Regions from separate parts of the Homo sapiens genome. Here region 1 is linked to region 2. The links are contacts of gene promoters, found by promoter capture Hi-C in blood cells and fetal thymus (Javierre and others, 2016). All regions are on one chromosome and are shown on one strand. The core of a region is centred on a gene start or on the middle of the fragment in contact, and the rest is flanking DNA. Distances in the headings are between cores, read along the strand shown. Region 1 has its middle 2.4 kb from the start of MRPS31. Region 2 holds the start of WBP4 (WW domain binding protein 4).

The links. Contacts are between HindIII fragments. The CHiCAGO score rates a contact against its expected background, and 5 or more counts as called.
Region 1: a contact is called between a fragment that was not itself captured here and the fragment with the promoter of WBP4 in region 2, in 1 of 17 cell types (fetal thymus). The highest score is 5.1, in fetal thymus.

What each region holds. Positions count from the first base shown.
Region 1 is chr13:40,771,615-40,775,555 of GRCh38, reverse strand. No RefSeq gene overlaps it. Among named protein-coding and RNA genes, the nearest start is that of MRPS31, 2.4 kb to the right of the region's middle. The HindIII fragment of the contact is 1,977 bases long and covers 482-2,458 here.
Region 2 is chr13:41,059,315-41,063,187 of GRCh38, reverse strand. It overlaps WBP4 (WW domain binding protein 4), which reads right to left and starts at 1,679. Exons shown (of 10, transcript NM_007187.5): 1 at 1,513-1,679; 2 at 472-544. The coding sequence starts at 1,514. TRE-TTC1-2 (tRNA-Glu (anticodon TTC) 1-2) reads left to right here and starts at 2,379; the gene lies at 2,379-2,450. It also overlaps a transcript of ELF1 not described here. RefSeq lists a silencer at 2,885-3,064. The HindIII fragment of the contact is 8,920 bases long and covers 1-3,873 here.

The DNA.
Region 1 (3,941 bases), core at 221-2,720, 290 kb after region 2:
CAGAGTTGATTTTAGGGAAAAGGATTACTTTGGACATAAAATATACAGATTTATAGACATATTCATTGGGAAATGAAGTTACATATATGGGCAATTCTAGTGACTGAAAAGCAATTAATAGAATCAATTACATTTGATTGCCTATCAAGTGCATAGACTAAGTATGATGGAAAATGGCATAAAACAAACAGCAGAATATGATACATCTTACTGCACAAGCAAAGTAGCCACAGAGCCTGTAAACCTCACTTGTGCTATGACATTCGTGTTCTGCCATCCTGCCACTTGGGAGAAGGGGCTCATTGTTTTTACCCTTTTGTGACCCACTAGCATGAACTAGTGGCTAGTTTATGCAGATTGGTAGAATAGTTTAAATTGTTCTGAATCTTTCTAGATGTATTATTTACTCACTTAGATCTTTCCAAGACGTATTATTTACTAGCTTTAAAGTGTTTCTAAGAATTAGTATAGTAATTAAGCTTAGAAATGAATCTGGGATACATTAAATATTATGGGAAAGAAGTTCATTGCGATGAAGTGAAATTGCTTGTACCATTAACTAACCTGCTACTTCAATATCTTCGCTGTGATTTTGCAACTTTGTAAGAGTTAGCCTGCTTTAGGCCGGGCACTGTGTGGAGAGAGGCCCAGCCAGCCCCTGTTTCTTCCAGCTATTCCAGCTGAGGTATCAGATGTGTGGGTGAAGAAACCATCCCGGACATTCAGTCTTATCTGATGGCAACCACATGAGGGATCAAAGTAGGGACCACCCAGCTGAGCTGCCCCGTCCACCACAGAACCAGGATAGATAACAAATTGTTGTTTTAAGATACTAAGCGTTAGGATGGTTTGTTGTGCAGCAATGGATAACTGGAATATAGGGTGATTTTGTTTCTTCATTTTCTTGTAAGGCTTGTTGAGTTAATTCGTATAGAATTTTATGAGATAGCTAGGACAAAGTCACCACTCTATATCAGGAGCAATTTCAGTTGATTTTCTATTTCTTGCCTTGTTTCTAAAAAGTGCATTTCCAGGGGTCCCTGGGAAGAAAATGACTGGTGAATCAAATACCATAATAGAAAGTTAGAGGAGGAAAAAATTTTCTACTTTCGGCTTTCTTTTTGTCACTCTCATAAATGATTGCTCTGGAAAAAAAATTACACAAGTCATATTAGTTTTTCAAAGGACAGACTTTTGAAGTTTGGGGGGAATTTATTGAAATTCTCTTCATGATTTAATTTATGGCCAAGTAGAACTATCCTATTAATTCTCTTTTTTTTTAAGTCAAATTTATTTATTTATTTAGAGAGAGGGTTTTGCCCTGTCATCTAGGCTGGAGTGCAGTGGCTCAATCACTGCTCACTGTAGCCTCCACCTTCTGGGCTCAAGCAATCCTCCCACTTCAGCCTCCCAAGTAGCTGAGACCACAGGGGCACCATGCCCAGCTAATTTTTTTATTTTTTGGTAGAGACAGTGTCATGAGTTCAGCTAAAATTCCAGAAGAAGAGAATGGCTATAGGTGGACAACAGCAATCCGTGCCAGAGTGCGACTGGATGGGGCAGGAGACTACATTAACCACGGTGGTCAAAGAAAGCCTCTATTGTAAGAAAGTGATAGTGGAAGGAACCAAATGGTAGAGAAGACTAAATTTCAATTCTGGCTTGTGACCCTCAGCCAGGCACTTTCACATAGTCACGGCCTATCTACCCTTACGGAGCAGGGAGGTAATTTACTGTGTCTGCACTACCTTAGAGTAGATTAAGAACAGGGTAGCTGGGACAAGGTCTTCCCCCAGAGAAACTGAAATTGAGATGGAAGTTTTCATCTTCTTTGTTAAGAGATTTTAGGGTTTTAAAAAACCCATTTGAAGGATATTATAAGAAATCGAAAAAAGATGAGGTAACTATTAAATGTGATCCACATGGACTGCTTATTATACTCAAGAATGGATTTTCCACTGGGTATCAAGTGATATCAAGGAAAGTATGCTGTACTGCTAATATTCTATTTCTTGATCCAGGTGGAGGTTTATATGGGTGAATTAACTCTGTGATCATTCCTTAAACACATTTTTGGTCAGGCACGGTGGCTAATGCTTGTAATCCCAGCACTTTGGGAGGCCAAGATGGGAAGATCACCTGAAATCAAGAGTTCGAGACTAGCCTGGCCAACATAGTGAAATCTGTCTCTGCTAAAAATGCCAAAATTAGCTGGGGGTGGTGGTGCACGCCTGTACTCCCAGCTACTCGGGAGGCTAGGGCAGGAGGATTGCTTGAACCTGGGAGGTGGAGGTTGCAGTGAGCTGAGATAGCACCACTGCACTCCAGCCTCGGTGACAGAGCAAGACTCCATCTCAACAATAACAAAGATACATTTTCATCAACATATTTATAATTCATACACTTTTCTGTATTGAAGTTGCTAAAGTTTATAGGAGGCCGTAGTTTTGGACAAGCTTCCTGTACTAGCCCCCAGCACACCAGAGCAAACCAGAATAGTCACTTGTGCTAAGTGCCAAGTAATCAAACTGAACTTTGAAATCAGGGCCAGTTTTCCAAAAGCAGGAGATTCACAGCACCAATCAGAGGGGCCCTAGTTTACCTGAGCCAGCATGACAAGGAATCCCTCTGTTTTAACCCTATAAGGAAGGTAACTTTGAAATGACCAATCTGATTTTTGTTCCCTGTTTCTATTTTCTTCAACTCTTTTGTGCTTGTAAAGCCAAACCCCTCTGCTCAACTCACTGGAACACTATTCTAGAATCACAAATAAAAACCAATTATGCTAAATTTGCCATAATTTTGTTTTTTGACAAAGTTATGCTTTAATTTTTGTTTGTTTTTTTACAAATCAGACAAAGTAAGCATCCCCAAGTGTACTGTGTAGAGCATTCAGTCACAAAGGTTCTGTTAGTGTTAGTGGATCTCAGGAAGATCTGCTCAATGTAAGCTGTGTTTTAGTATCACAAAAACTCACCTCCCCACCTTGATTATTTTTTGAGAGGACAGGGAAAATGTTGATGTAAACTTTGGAATGCCTTTATGGAATTTTAGGCTAGTGGTTCCCATGTGTCCTATTAGCCAACATTTCCCACCAGATTTATTCTCATCCCCTTCCAAGTTTGGGAACCCCACATCTCTTCTGGGGTCACAGTTCCCTGTTTCATGAGGGACAGGTAAAAGCCAAGTCTCTCTCTTGCATCTTTTCATCCTTTTTTTTTTTTGAGACGGGGTCTCACTCTGTTGCCCAGGCTGGAGTGCAGTGGCACAATCTTGGCTCACTGCAGCTTCCGCCTCCCGGGTTCAAGCTATTCTCCTGCCTCAGCCTCCCGAGTAGCTGGGATTATAGGCACTCGCCACCACGCCAGGTTAATTTTTGCATTTTTAGTAGAGTCAGGGTTTCACTATGTTGACCAGGCTGGTCTTCACCCCTGGCCTCAAGTGATCTGCCCGCCTCGGCTTCCGTAAGTACTGGGATTACAGGTATGAGCCACTGTGCCCCCGGCGTAAATCTTTTTTTCTTTTCTTTTTTGTTTTTTTGAGACAAAGAATCTCGCCCTGTAGCCCAAGCTGGAGTGCAATGGCGCGATCTCGGCTCACTGCAGCCCCCACCTCCCGAGTTCAAGCGCTTCTCCTGCCTCAGCCTCCCCAGTAGCTGGGATTACAGGCGCCCGCCACCACGGCCGGCTAATTGTGTGTGTGTGTGTGTGTGTGTGTTTGTATTTTTTTTTTTTTTTTTTTTTTTTAGTAGAGATGGGGTTTCACCATGTTGGCCAGGCTGGTCTCGCACCCGTGACCTCAAGTGACCCACCCGCCTCGGCCTCCCAAAGTGCTGGGATTACAGGCGTGAGCCACCGTGCCCGGCCATAAAGCTATTTTTGAAAAATGAAACCTATGTCTCATTTTGACTCTACATCAAAAATAAAGACTGAAAGGAAACG
Region 2 (3,873 bases), core at 430-2,929:
CTTTGTTTCATGAGAAAGGAAATAATGGTGTTCTTTCAAATTTAAGCATCTAAAGATACACAGCTCTGCATTAAATACACTTGATTATTTCTAGACCACAAAATATACAAGAAAAACTAAACATGTTGCTTTTATTTTTTAAGGGCTTTCCACAATTCTTTGGGTATGACAGTATTATGAACACCACCATTATAATATAGGTGCTTCATAACATGAATGATATGACCAACTCATTGCCCATTTCCCAAAAGGCCACAGAGAAATAATTTAATATATAATCAAAGTCAGGTTGATGAAAAGGAAGAAGGCTCACAGCTTTCATAGGGGACTGAGAAGACAGAAATCTTCTGATGTTTTGAAAATGCAAGAGCAATGTACATAAAAGTGCTTTGTAAACTGAGTTTACATCAAAAAGGAGCACTTCATTCAACACAATTATTATTAGAATCTCTAACAGCGGAATTATCATACAGGCCTATTGTCTGCTATCCAGCACTTGCAGTAATCACAGAATTTCTTTGGCTGTGACTTCCAGTAGTCCGCCCTGAAAAAGAGAGACAACAAGGCTAAGCTCATGTAAAACTTAAAAAAGGTTAAATTCTGCATGCTTTACAGTTTTTAAAGTTTGAAATATATGCCCCTGCTACTGAATCTTGTCTTGTTATGTATAGTCGTTTTATTATTTATCTGGTTGGAGCACAGTCAATTGAAATTCTGTTGCCAGCGGAGTAGAAAAAGTCTGTATCTGATTCATTACAAAACTCCCTTCAATAAAATGGCTTTCAAAAATTCCTCACTTGTTATCGTCATCGTTATGAAAAACTAAGGAACATCTTAGAAGAACATTTATCCTTTCTGGCTTTGGGGGAGGTTGCTGTAATGGAAACCTGAAGAAACTCATAAAGTTTGCCTTAAATCAAGTTATTCCCACCAAGAGAACAACGTACAAGACTACTCTGGGGAAAACTGTAGTTCCTCCCAGACTCTCAGTTAAAACAAACTGTTCTTGAGCCTCAAGGCAAGAGAGAACTGGAAAAGCCATGGGACTTCGTAGACGGCCGACAAAAAAAAAAAAAAAAAAAAAAAAAAAACCATTACGCTATCCAGGGCTGGCCGCTTCCAGTGGGCGGGGGAGGCCGCAGCCCAGCCCTAGTTTCACAATACCCTAGGGTTCAGGGGCTTCGGAAACCCAAGGGGTGCATGCGACCCCCGACAGCGTCGTAGAGAGAGCACTGCGTCGCTTCACCCGCGGCCGTCCAACCAGCCCCCTGAACCGGCCGCCGGCCTCCCCCTAGAGCCCGTGCCCCATACCCCAGGGCGTTCAGCGGGGTAACATTTCTACCCCGCCCTGAGAACCGGCCCTGCAGGTCTGGGGCCGGTCCCGAGCGAGTTAAGAACGCGTCTGTCACGCCCCCGGCCGAAGGGCGGGAGGAGAGGAGGGGAAGACCCGGGCGAGAAAGGGCGGCCCAGAGAAACAACACCTCGTTGTTCAGGGCCTGAGACCCAACTCACATGACTGCGCCAGCCGCTCTGCAAGTCGTCCAGGGTTCCACTCAGACTCGCGCTTTCCCAGCGGGACGAGTCGAGCTCTTCCAGCCGCCCGATGCCCACCCGAACCTCCCTCCGATCCAGACACCTTACTCAGTCCCCGGGACCAGCGTTCCGCTGTTCCCAACTACGGGTGCCCAGACGATCCAATCCGCGTTCGAAATCGCCTCCTCTCCCCTCCCCCTACAGGGGCGGTACTCCCGGCTCCAAAGAGGTGGGGTCGGTATAAAGGGGTTGAGGTCACCGGGAAGGGGTAAAAGCGCGACGGGACCTGAGCTGAAGGACGGGATCTCAAGCCTCAAGTCCCTGCGCCATCCCGCCGTCTCTGTGTCCTCCCCTGGGGCCCAAAACCTCCATCCTCCTTCTAGGCTCGCTGGCTCAAGGCCAAGGAGCTCAGCGCGCCGCCTCCGCCCGGAACGCAAACAGCTGTTCCCAGAGACGTCTCCGCTCTCAACTTTGCCAACTACTCCGCACGCACTTTGACCAGCGGAGCAACCGGGACCTGTGGGTCGGGGTCCTCTGGCGGAGTTAAAAAAAAAAGAGGTGAAACTGCGGGACCGGCGCTGCGAGTCGCTAGGCTTCGCCTCAAACTTTGCTGTTGCAGCGGAGCGGCCCCGCCCCTCCTCTCCCCTACGACGCCCACGCGCTCGGATGGGGCTTGTTCCCTAGCTCGGGAGCGTGTGGGCAGCAGCAGCGGCGGCGGCGGCGGCGGCGGCGGCGGCGGCAGCAGCAGCTTCAGTAGCGCAGAGGCGGCGGTGGCGAGAGGTGCGGCGAAGGAGGCAGAGGCACTTATGCTTGTCAGGTGGGTCACGGCAGTTTCTCATAGCACTTCCCATATGGTCTAGCGGTTAGGATTCCTGGTTTTCACCCAGGTGGCCCGGGTTCGACTCCCGGTATGGGAACGCTTCCTTATTTTTCTTTTTTTTTGCAACTATCGGTTTGGAGGGCTGACTTTTTAAATCTTGTGTTCTGGCTCCTTTCTTGTCCCCGTCTGGGTGAGTTTGTAGAAAATAAGCATTACTGTAGTTAGTGGCGCCAGGAGCTGGGCTGCGGCTTTTGGAGCCTCGAGTGCCACGCCGTGCCTGCTGGAGAAGCGAATGCGCTTCCGATCCTTCTCCCTCCCGCCTCCGGCTCACGGGGCTGGTGGGCCCTGAGGGAGTTTCACTTTCCCCTGGGCTGCTCCCCCGCCCCTCCGGCCCGTAGTTTTCCAGACGCCCGGGAGGTGATGATTAACTCCGGCCTTGCGTTATCTCCTCCCAGCGCCCCCGTCCGGCCCACACCCTCTTCAGCCGCTCTTGCGACTCTTCCTATGCAGGACGGGCTGACCCCCCTGCCCTGGGCGCCCCAGAGCCCGCGCCCGGACCAGTAGCTCTAGTGGTTCTCTGGCCGCAGGGTATTTACGAGGCCCCACGGAACACAGTGTGCCTTCCGCGCCCTCCCGGGGGGACGCGCTTTCCCGGCCGCGCAGCCGCCCGGCGCCCCTTTCCGCCGCGTGTGCGCTCGCGTCTCCACCCGCGGCGCCTGAGCAAGCGCGAGGCCGGCCTGCGAGGTCTTCCCAACTTGACTTAAGGGGCGCTGGTCGCAGTCACGGAAAGTACCCTCGAAAAAAGGCCTTTGGGAACGAGAATCTTTTTTCTTTCCCTTTAAAAATACACACCACGAGCTATGGAGGAGAAAAATACCACTCTGATGAGATGGCTTTAAATAAGTATATCGACTTTCCAAAGGGTCTAACATTTTGAGCGCGGTTGATTTAAAGAAAAAAATTGATTAAAACAACGGCAAAACATCCTGGGGTGGAGGTGGGGCTTGGGAAAGAGAAAATTGGCTGGAGACTGGGGAGGGGACGTTAAAACAAAGTTTCACTGTATTTTTAAATATAGAAGCCCTGTGTTTATTACAAAGAAGGGACAGCTGTGTCAGCAGCATGTGAGCTGTAAATGAAACAAAAGCGTTATCTTAAATGCAAGCTGAAATTAGAAAATAGGGTCGGCTATAATGTTTATTGGGCCTCTGGGAACAAACGAAGAAGGAAAAAGTGACTCTTGTAGATGGGTTTCTGGTCAGTGCCATTACTGAAAGCAGATGTTTTGGTTGTTAGTATGTGTGTTCCCAGACTATTTTGTAGCTTTAACTGCACAGTAAATTTGTTAATGTGATCTGCGTGATTAAGGATTAATTAGGCTTACCTTGTTAAAAAGAAAGAAAAAGCCTAAGTATTTTAAATCGTCTTCATTAATTCAAATATTTGTGTGTTTGCTACACACCAAGCACCACCACATGCTTTTGAAGTTACTGATGTTTGTATTCTTTATGTTAGCTAGT